2 separate regions of the Homo sapiens genome follow, and region 1 is linked to region 2. The links are contacts of gene promoters, found by promoter capture Hi-C in blood cells and fetal thymus (Javierre and others, 2016). All regions are on one chromosome and are shown on one strand. Each heading gives the region's core, a stretch centred on a gene start or on the middle of the fragment in contact. The rest is flanking DNA. Distances are from core to core; before and after follow the strand shown. Region 1 overlaps YPEL1 (yippee like 1). Region 2 holds the start of TOP3B (DNA topoisomerase III beta).

Region 1 (5,365 bases), core at 142-2,641, 270 kb after region 2:
TTATACCTGCCAGGCAGCAGAAGTGTTAAAATTTGACCATATCAAGTTGGCGGGATAAAGATCAGCAGGGACTCATGTTCGCTGCTGGCAGGATGACCTTGTCACCGGCACTTGGGAGGTGCTGCTGTGTGCACGGGCATCTGCTCCTGGGATTGTTCCAACGAAACACCTGCCTGTGCGGCTCAGGAGAGGTGACAGCGACAGCAGCACCATTTAGTAGCCAGCCTGGGAGCCGATACACATCCACACCCCGTCAGTGGCTGCATGCAGTGTATCTGACGGGACACCAGGTGAAGGGGGCCCAGCTGCACATGGGGACAGAGGCAGACTTGGCTGCACGTCAGCAGAGAAGTCTCACAGCATCGTCGGTGTCAAGTTCAAAACACGGAACACGCAGCAGTGTGGCTCAGGGCCACACACGGGGCACAGCCATCAGGACAAGCAAAGACCAAGAAGCACCAAGTCCAAGTTAGGCAGCATCTCAGGCCGGGGCACCAAGGAAGGGCACAGCAGCGCCGTGGTGACCGGGTCCCAGTACCATCCTGGGTGGCCGCCACCGGCCGTTTGTGTCTTCCGTTCACACGATTACAAACGCTGCGTTCTGCCCACACACATCTTCAGTCCCAGATGTGAGAAGGTGACCCTCTAATGCAGGCGTGCCTGCGCAGGTGGGGGGCAGACGCCGTCCTGGGTGTCATCCCATGGAAGGGCACAGGACAGGCTGCTGCCGGAGCAGAGGTCACATGGGGTGGGGGGCGGTGGGGGGTGCATCTCAGGAGGAGCAGGTGTGAGGACACTGCTGGCGCTTGGCTCTTCTTCCCAGCCCCGTGCTCTCGAATTTGGGGAAACCCTTGCTCTTCTGTTTGGCCTGAAAGAAAATCCGGTGTGCCTGACTCTCTGCAGGCCCCTTGTCACAGGCCAGGCTGGGGTGGTGCCACCAGGAAAACTTGGCGCACGTCCTGTTGCTGATGATGGCAGCATCAGTCATGGACTTAACCTTCTTTTGTTAATGAGACCTTAGAAATGTAAAAATGATACACTCTTCTTTAAAATAATTGTAGTCAGTACACATAACTCTTACCATCTTAACCATTTCTAAGTGTACAGTTCAGTGACATTAAATATATTCACATTTTTGTACAGCCATCGCCACCCTCCAACCTCCAGAATTCTTCATGTTGCAAAACTGAAACACTGCACCCATGAAGCGGGGACTCCCCTGCCCCTGGCAGCTCTTTCTGTCTCTGAGTCCCACTACTCTAAGTACCTCATACAATATTTGTCCTTTGTGACTGGCTTACTTCACTGAGCATAGTGTCCTCAGGGTTCCTCCATGCTGTAGCTGTGACAGGAGCCCCCTCCTGTTAAAGGCTGGATAACATTCCACTGTATGCAGACGCCACATTTTGATCATGAGAATGCCCGTTTGTGGAGGGACACACTGTTGCTTCCCCCTCGTGGCTGTTGTGGATAATGTCGCTGTGAGCATGGGTGTGCAGACATGGCTTTGAGACCCTGTTTTCAGTTCTCGTGGATTTATACCCAGCAGTGGAATTGCTGGAGCCCATGGTAATTCTATATTTCGTTTTTTGAGGAATTACCATACTGTTTCCCATAGTGCCTCCAGCATTTTACATTTTTACCCTCAATGCACAAGGCTCCAATTCCTCCACATCCTCACCAACGCTTATTTTCCGTGTGTGCGCGTTGATAGTAGCCGTCCTAGAGGGTGTGTGGTGGTGTCTCAACGTGGTCCTTGTCTGCCTCCCTCAGGATCAGTGACATGGAGCACCTTTTCACGTGCTTGTGGGCCATCTGTATATCTTCTTCGGAGAAATGTTTATATAAGTCCTTTGTCCATTTTTAATCAGATTGGGGTTGTTTTGTTGAGTTGTAGGAGTTTCTTAAATATATTCTAATAACTATATAGAATATAGATATATAGGTCCTTTGTCCATTTTTTAATCAGATTGTGTTTCTTTTTGCTGAGTTTTTTTTAACATATTCTAACAACTAGAATATATAGAGAATATAGATACATAGGTCCTTTATCCATTTTCCTTTTTTTTTTTTTTTTGAGATGTAGTCTCACTCTGTCGCCCAGGCTGGAGTGCAGTGATATGGTCTCGGCTCACTGCAACCGCTGCCTCCTGGGTTCAAGCAATTCTGCTGCCTCGGCCTCCCAAGTAGCTGGGACTACAAGCACCCGCCACCACGCCCGGCTAATTTTTTGTATTTTTAGTAGAGACGGGGTTTCGCCATGTTGACTAGGGTGGTCTCGATCTCCTGACCTAGTGATCCACCTTCTTCGGCCTCCCATAATGCTGGGATTACAGGCGTGAGCCACCACGCCGGGCCCATACCCGGCCCTTTATCCATTTTTTAACCTGTTTGTTTGATTTGCTGAGTTGTAGTTGTTTTTTTTTTTTTTTTTTACATATTCCAATAACTAGGATATATAGAGAATATGGATATATAGAGAATATGTATAGAGAGAATATAGAATATATGTATTCTAGATATTAACACCTTATCAGGTATATGATTTAAAAATATTTTCCCTCATTCTCTGGGTTGCCTCTGTTGATAGTATCCTTTGAAGCACAAAAGTTTTTATTTATTTATTTAGAGACAGGGTTTCACTCTGTTGCTCAGGCTGGAGTGCAGTTGGACGATCTCAGCTCACTTGAGCCTCAACTTCCCAGGCTCAAGCCATCCTCCCACCTCAGCTATCCCAAGTAGCTGGGACCACAGGCACAGGGACCACACCCAGCTAATTTTGTGTATTTTTAGTTGAGATGAGGTATTGCTTTGTTGCCCAGGCTGGTTTTGAGTTCCTGGGCTCAAGTGGTCCACCCACCTCAGCCTCCCAAAGTGCTGGGACCACAGGCGTGAGCACTGCACCGAGCCAGAAGTTTTGAATTTTTACGAAGTCTAATGTGTCTGTTTTTCTTTTGCTGCCCATGCTTTTGGTATCGTATCCAAGAGATGATTGCCACATCCAATGTCATGAAGCTTTTCCCCTGTGTTTCCTTCTAAGAGTTTTATAGTCTTAGCTCTCACATTTAGGTCTTTTATTTTGAGTTAATTTGTATACGGTGTTAGGTAAGAGTCCAACTTTATATTTTTGCAGGTGGATATCCAGTTGTTGTGACACCATTTGTTGAAAGACTGTCCTTTCCCCATTGAATGGTCTTGACACCCTGTTGAAGATCATGTGACCATACATAAGGGTTTATTTCAGGACTGGAATTTCTTAAAGATTAAATAATACTGGATCCATCACTCACATTCCTCAATGTCCTGGTGCTCTGCGTGGTGAATTCCCGGATTCGGGGTGGGGTGCATCCAGCCCTGCCACCGGGCCCACTCACCGGGCGTCTTGGTTCTGCCTCTCCTTTCATGTTTCCAAAGCCAAACCTGGTATAAGAAGAATTTGAATCAATGTTTTTCTCAAATTATTTGCATGTAAAAGGAGTTCATTTTTTCACTTCCAACTAAATGTAAAGTGGTTAAGCAGTGGCATGGTGTCAGTGTTCATTTTGTCTACAATTGATACTAAAGAGTTGGATCTTGGTCAGGCGCAGTGGTGCTTGTAATCCCAGCACTTTGGGAGGCCAGGCTTGGTGGCGTGTTCCTGTAATCCCAGCTACTCAGAGGCTGAGGTAGAAGAATCGCTTGAACCCAGGAGGAGGAGGTTGCAGCGAGCTGAGATTGCGCCACTGCACTCCAGCCTGGGCAACAGAGTGAGACTCCATCTCAAAAAAAAAAAAAAATTCTAGTCCTGCCACCCCCCCACCCCGCGTGTTGCTTCACAACACATGAATCCCATATGTACCTGCTTCACACGCATGTTCTCTCTGTAACCCACCACTTTGTCTGATTGGTTGGCAGGTTACGTTTTTCTCTCGTCCCAGCTGTGTGGACAGTGCCACACGCCCTCCTGGACAACGACGGCTCTTGCGTGCATTTTCCAGTGTTGCTTTTGTCAGAGAGGCCAGCAGAGCCACGGTTCTTCCAGAACCAGCCCTGAGCTGAGTGAGGAGTGCCCAGGAGAGATGGTGAAAATGACAAAGTCCAAAACTTTCCAAGCGTATCTGCCGAACTGTCACCGAACGTACAGCTGTATCCACTGCAGAGCACACCTGGCCAATCATGACGAGCTCATCTCCAAGGCAAGTGGCTTATGCCAAAAAATTGATGGCACAATGATTATCTGTCATTGTGGTACCTACATAGTGGAAGAATATTTAAGCATCACATGACTTCCTGAGTCTGCTGTGTCCTGAACGTCTAGAGCCTTCTAGGCAGCATTGGTGAGCGTTTTGTGCATGGTTAAGTGTGGCTGTGCCACGATCTCAGATGTGATCCTGGCATGGTGGGCGGTTTTCCAGGGCCAGGCAGCTGGCACTCCCAGGGATTACGAGGGGCAAGGTGAATCACTTGTTACTCACAGCAGAAAGCCAGAGAGGACTGAATGAGCAAAAGAAGTCTAGAAAAATCTGTGGAAATGGTTTAATAATAAGGGTATTAAGACATTTTAAAAACTCAGCATGGTTAAGAAGGAAAGGGGTTGCTCAGAAAAATGCCCCAGAGGGTGTGGCTGCGTTTGTCGGTTGTGTAGGAGCCCTGGGTGAAGCTCTGGCTGGTCTCTGTGCATAGAACCCATGAGCAGCCTTGAAGATGTAAACAAGATCCCCTGGCCCCTCCTTACTGTGCTGAGCTCCTCATTAGCAGTGTGTGGCGTTGATCATCAACCAGTTGTGAACATTTAAACAGGCCAAACATCATGGAGGAGCTGATGCTCAGTCGGAATGACAGTGTTCTCCACCCATCCTCAGGTCATGACATCCCCCCAGCCTCAGGTCATGAACTCCCCGCATCCTCATACGTCATGACCACCGATCCTCAGGTCATGACCTCCCACATCCTCACAGGTCATGACCTCCCCCATGCTCAATTCATGACTTGCACCCATCCTCACGGATCATTACCTCCACTCATCCTTATAGGTCATGACCTCCCCCCATCCTCACAGGCCATGACCTCCCCCCATCCTCAGGTCATGACGTCTCCCCATCTTCACAGGTCACGACCACTTTGGGAACAAAGTTTGTCAGGAAGTTGTGCCTTTCAGAAATCTTTTCTTCTTTTTTTAAATAGGTATTTTATTTACTTTTATTTTTTCTTGTAGAGACAGGGTTTTACCATGTTGCCAAGGCTGGTCTTGTACTCCTGGCCTCAAGCGATCCTCCTGCCTTGGCCTCCCAAAGTGCTGGGATTATAGGTGTGAGTCACCACGCCCAGCCAGGAATCTCTTAGGTTTCCTGTTTAACTCAAGAGAAGAACATTTACCTGCTTGTAT
Region 2 (4,999 bases), core at 1,604-4,103:
AGTATTATCAAAATCATGGACCAGCCTATGCCGAACCAGAGAGAAGAGAGGTCCAGGAGCCCTCAGTTATCCCATCCACCATAACCAGGCACCTGCCCAGTAAGTGAGGAGGGTAAGGAAGAGGAGAAAAGTCAAGACCATGGTGGAAACACCCCAGGGCTCTGCTTCCTGAAGTCCCATGGCGGTGTCTGGGCACCTGAGTTTCTCTCATGGCCTCTGCACACTCCTTAGAGGAGGCCTCTGCAGGCAAGTCTGCTGCTACTCTTTAGGGGAGTCAGTTTCTCCCCAGCCATGGGGAAAGAAGAACGGCCCCTCTCGCTGAGTCGATCCTAGGCCACCATCTCCCTGGTCAGAGTGGAGCTGGGGTTGGGGGGAGTCCCAATAGGGAGACACCTCCAAGTTGAAGGGTTCCTCTGAATCTGGGTCATTTGTCAACCTAAGGGTCAGTCAGAAAGCCTGACCCAAAGCTCTGGCAGAGGGTCAGCTGCAGGGCTCTCCGGGAAGAAAGCACAAGGCAACTGCAGTTTCTCTGCTCTGACCAAGAACACTTCCCGACGCCCTGGCCTTCAGAGCTGACCACTCAGCGCCTCCTGCTGGCCCAGGCCTCAGGTCCTTCCTAGGGCTCCATACAATGAACTCTGGAACTGGATTGATGGAATGAGCTGAGGGCCTCTGGGTTTCTCTTTCAGCCAACTGGTAGCACCCAACAGAGCCAATCTTAGCCCTGGCTGGTATGTGGAGAACACACTGCAGGGCGGCAAGGTGGAGACCTGGAGGGAGAGGAGGAGCTCGGATCAGGGTGGTGGCAGGGAGGCAGGGAGACTTGAGGGGATCTCCGATATACAGTCTTCGATTTAGGACAATTTCCACCTACAGGATTTTTCAACTACAAAACCAGTATGCATTCTGCACGCTTCTTGACTCATGATGGGGCTACATCTGGGTAAGCCCATAGTAAGTTGAAAATACCATAAGTCAAAAACGTACTTTCGAGTCACAATATTTTCAACTTAAGATGGGTTTATGTGGATGTAGTTCCATCTGAAGTTGAGGAGCATCTGTATTGTAAAGACAGTAATGGCAGGATTTGTGGGTGGTCCAGGATGCTCCCAGGCTCTGTCCCTGAGCAACCAGGAAGATGGAGTTGCCATTTTGGAGACGAAGAACCTACCAAGGTGTGGGTTTGGAATCAGGAGTTCTGCTTTGAAAGTGAAGTCTCACCGTGACTCATAATTTGTGACATTTCCAAACCTTAATTTGCCTATAGAACTTTTCTTTTTCCAGAGCCTCTATCCAGACTACTTATTATTTATCAAAATAAATTAGATAAATAAATAACTTAATTTTAGAATTCATCTTCCAGATATACTTTACACAGATCATTCCAATAAAGGCAGGTTGGGGCCCGGGACAGTGGCTCACCCCTGTAATCCCAGCACTTTGGGAGGCCGAGGCAGGAGGATCACTTGAGGCCAGGAGTTTGAGACCAATCTGGGCAACATAGTGAGACCCTCCCCCTAGACCCCATCTCTACCAAAAAAAAAAAAATTAATTGGCTGGGCTTGGTGGCTGGCACCTGTGGTCCCAGCTACTGGGGAGGCTGAGGTGAGAGCATCGCCTGACGCCAGGAGATCGAGGCTGCAGTGAGCTGTGATCTCGCTACTGCGCTCCAGCCTGGGTGACAGAGTGAAACCCTGTCTTTAAAAAAAAAAAAAAAAAAACAGCAGGTTGGGAAAATCTACAAGGAACAAGGGCAATGTGTGTATGTTATTTAAAATAAGATCATAAAACGTATTTTAAACCTTCCATAATCCTAATGCTCTAACAAATAAATTAGTTGGCCGAGCGTGAAGAGTCACACCTGTAATCCCAGCATTTTGGGAGGCCGAGGGAGGCGGACCACCTAAGGTCAGGAGTTCAAGACTAGCCTGGTTAACACGGTGAAACCCCCGTCTCTACTAAAAATATAGAAATCTTTGGGAGGCCAAGGCGGGCGGATCACGAGGTCAGGAGATCGAGACCATCCTGGCTAACACGGTGAAGCCCCGTCTCTACTAAAAAAATACAAAAAATTAGCCCGCGTGGTGGCAAGCGCCTATAGTCCCAGCTACTTGGGAGGCTGAGGCGAGATCATCGCTTGAACCCGGGAGGCGGAGGTTGCAGTGAGCCGAGATTGCGCCACTGCACTTCAGCCTGGGCAACAGAGTGAGACTCCGCCTCAAAAAAAAAAAAAAAAATATATATATATATGTATACACACACATATATATACATACACATATAAATTAGCTGGGCGTGGTGGCGCACGCCTGTAATCCCAGCTATTTAGGAGGCTGAGGCAGGCGAATTGCTTGAACCTGGGAGGCGGAGGTTTCAGTGAGCCGAGATCACACCACTGCACTCCAGCCTGGGCGACAAGAGTAAAACTCTGTCTCAAAATAAATAAATAAATAAATAAATAAATAACTTAATTTTAGAATTCATCTTCCAAATATATTTTACACAGATCATTCATTCATTCCACAGATTTTTTTACAGCATCGAAAAGAAGCCTGCTATACACACATCGGTACATTTTTATTATTTTAATTATTAACAGCATAAATGTTTTCATGCCAGTTTTCATAATCATTGTAATGATAATTGTCATGATTGTCTCTCCGTGGCGGGGAAGAATCTGGGTGCAGGGCTTGGGGATCCCTGCGGTCCGCGGCGTGCAAGTGCCACTCCCTGGGGTGCTCCCGGAATCCGCGAGCCACGGAACCTAAGAACGCCGACCCGCCGGAGCCGGAGGGCAGACGCTGGCACACCGGACGCGGGGACGCCAGAAGCGGCTGGACCCGGAAATAGGGGTTGTCGGTAGCCGCCCCGGGAACAAGGACCGGAGCTGGATCCGCGGTGCGGCTGTGGGTGAGCGGCGGGCTGCGGGACCCTCGCCCGGCGGCTCAGAAAGGCGGGAAGCGCACGCATTTTTCTGGCTTGTTTCCTGAACGTTGGCCGGCGGAGGACCCGCGAGCTCGGGAGAGCGCCCGGGCCGGGCTCTGCATTCTTGTTGCCTCTTCCCTGGCGGGGGTGATACTCTCCCGCGGGGCTTGCTGTGGGGGTTCAGGGAGGTGGAGATGGGCCCGCCATGTGCCTGCAGGGAGCAGGCGCTGTGGTTAATACTTTTCTTCTTCGAACCCTCCCACAGCTCTTTAGGGTGAGATCTGCTGTACCAGTCTCACAGGTAGGGAAACTGAGGCTCAGGGAAGCTGTGCAGCCACCGGGGCCCAGATCGGTGCGGTACACACCCAGGCAGCTTCCACTCGCCGCCCCCTAGGCCCTGGCTGGGTTTTGAGGGCACCCAGGTTCTCTGACCTGTTATCTGTAAATGAAGTAGGGTACTTTTGTGAACAAATTAGCTGGAATCCAGGGGCAATAATTTCTCGCAGAAGTGAAAGGTAAGATGTTCCTAGTCTTGCCTTTTTATCTTCTCACCTTTTGAAACAGGACCTGAGAGGCCAGCCTAACTTGGGCTTGATGGCCAGCCAGTCCTGGGATTCTTTTGCCAAGGTCACCTGACACTAGTGTGACTTGTTCTGAACCTCCATTTACTCACAGTTTTAAAAAATTACAACACCTGCCTTATGGGGTTGCTGGCGAGATTGAATAGTGTTGATAGCTATGGTGTGCCTACTACAAAGGAGGAGCTTAAGAAATGGTTGTTTCCCTCTTTTCCTGATTCTAGAAGCATTTGGTAAAGTTACTGAGGTGGTAAATCCTAGGAATTTTAATGCTATTCAGACCACTGCTAGGCCTACTCCCAGGCCACATCTGCTTGTTTCTTTTTTTGTTTGTTTTGTTGCAGGCAGAGTCTCACTCTGTCACCCAGGCTGGAGTGCAGTGGCGCGATCTCAGCTCACTGCAACCTCCGCCCCCGGGTTCAAGTGATTCTCCTGCCTCAGCCTCCTGAGTAGCTGGGATTACAGGCATGCGCCACCACGCCCAGCTAATTTTTGTATTTTTAGTAGAGACCAGGCTTCACCATGTTGGCCAGGCTGGTCTTGAACTGCTGACCTCGGGTGATCCACCTGCCTCAGCCTCGCAAAGTATTTGCTCACTGTCTATTTACCGTGAGAATGCACAAAGCAAAACCCGTGTTCTCCTGCTGCTTACTTACTTTCTAGGAGCTGTAAGACAAGAGCTGAATAAGTAGATGGAAGCTGTACCAAGTGTAGTGATGAGTGCTACAAGGAAGCAAAGCTGGGCTGCTGTTCCATCAGAGTGCTCACAGAGGCAGGACAGGATCAGGCTTGGGGCACGGGTTCTAGAACAACCAAGTCCAGCCACTGGAGCTCTGGTCTCTCTGACCCCACAGTCCCAGTCTAGGCCAATAAAATGGCAGCACCTATTAGCATCCCTGCCTAGGATGCTGGCAGGACTGCCTGGTCCCTGGTGTGTCCTCATTATGTCATACATAATTGCTGACTACTCTGTGGCATAGACATGAGAAAATCTGAGGAAACATTTTAGGACAAAATTTCCTACTTTGGAAGAGATGGGAAACTCAGACCCTCACAGAACAATGCCCCTCTGCTGCGAGTTTTCCCTTTTGGCCTCTGGCTTCCCAGGGTGAGAGAAGGGGAGTCCCTAAATCTCTTTTAAACCTCACTTCTGGGCCTCTGATTTTGGTAGAATCAAAACTTCCCCAGAACGGAGAGCAGAGGCCAGTCATAATCACCTTGGTTGTTCATTCATTCCCTCAGCAGGCATTTAGTGCATGCTGGGTGCCAGAAATATGGCAATGAACCTGACAATTGTGGGAGAGACAGACTGCTGACGCCAGATGCAGTCTTCAGGAGGGGAGGGGCAGGGGTCAGAGCAAGTAGACTAAGGGGGAAAAGTGGCCTAGGCCGAAGCCTGCTGGCGCACAGGGAGGAAAGGTGGGTGCGCAGCAGAGCCTTGGGAGATGCAGCTGGAGCTGTCATGGGCCAGAGAGCTCATCTGCAGACAGTGTCGT

What was found. Contacts are between HindIII fragments. The CHiCAGO score rates a contact against its expected background, and 5 or more counts as called.
Region 1: a contact is called between a fragment that was not itself captured here and the fragment with the promoter of TOP3B in region 2, in 2 of 17 cell types (M0 macrophages and M1 macrophages). The highest score is 7.3, in M0 macrophages.

What each region holds. Positions count from the first base shown.
Region 1 is chr22:21,709,438-21,714,802 of GRCh38, reverse strand. YPEL1 (yippee like 1) reads left to right here. Exons shown (of 5, transcript NM_013313.5): 2 at 3,895-4,175. The coding sequence starts at 4,059. Among named protein-coding and RNA genes, the nearest start is that of YPEL1, 24 kb to the left of the region's middle. RefSeq lists a silencer at 776-934 and enhancers at 1,143-1,192, 3,561-4,760. The HindIII fragment of the contact is 3,252 bases long and covers 1-3,017 here.
Region 2 is chr22:21,980,641-21,985,639 of GRCh38, reverse strand. It overlaps TOP3B (DNA topoisomerase III beta), which reads left to right and starts at 2,853. Exons shown (of 18, transcript NM_001282112.2): 1 at 2,853-2,910. RefSeq lists enhancers at 2,674-2,968, 2,466-3,452. The HindIII fragment of the contact is 18,886 bases long and covers 1-4,999 here.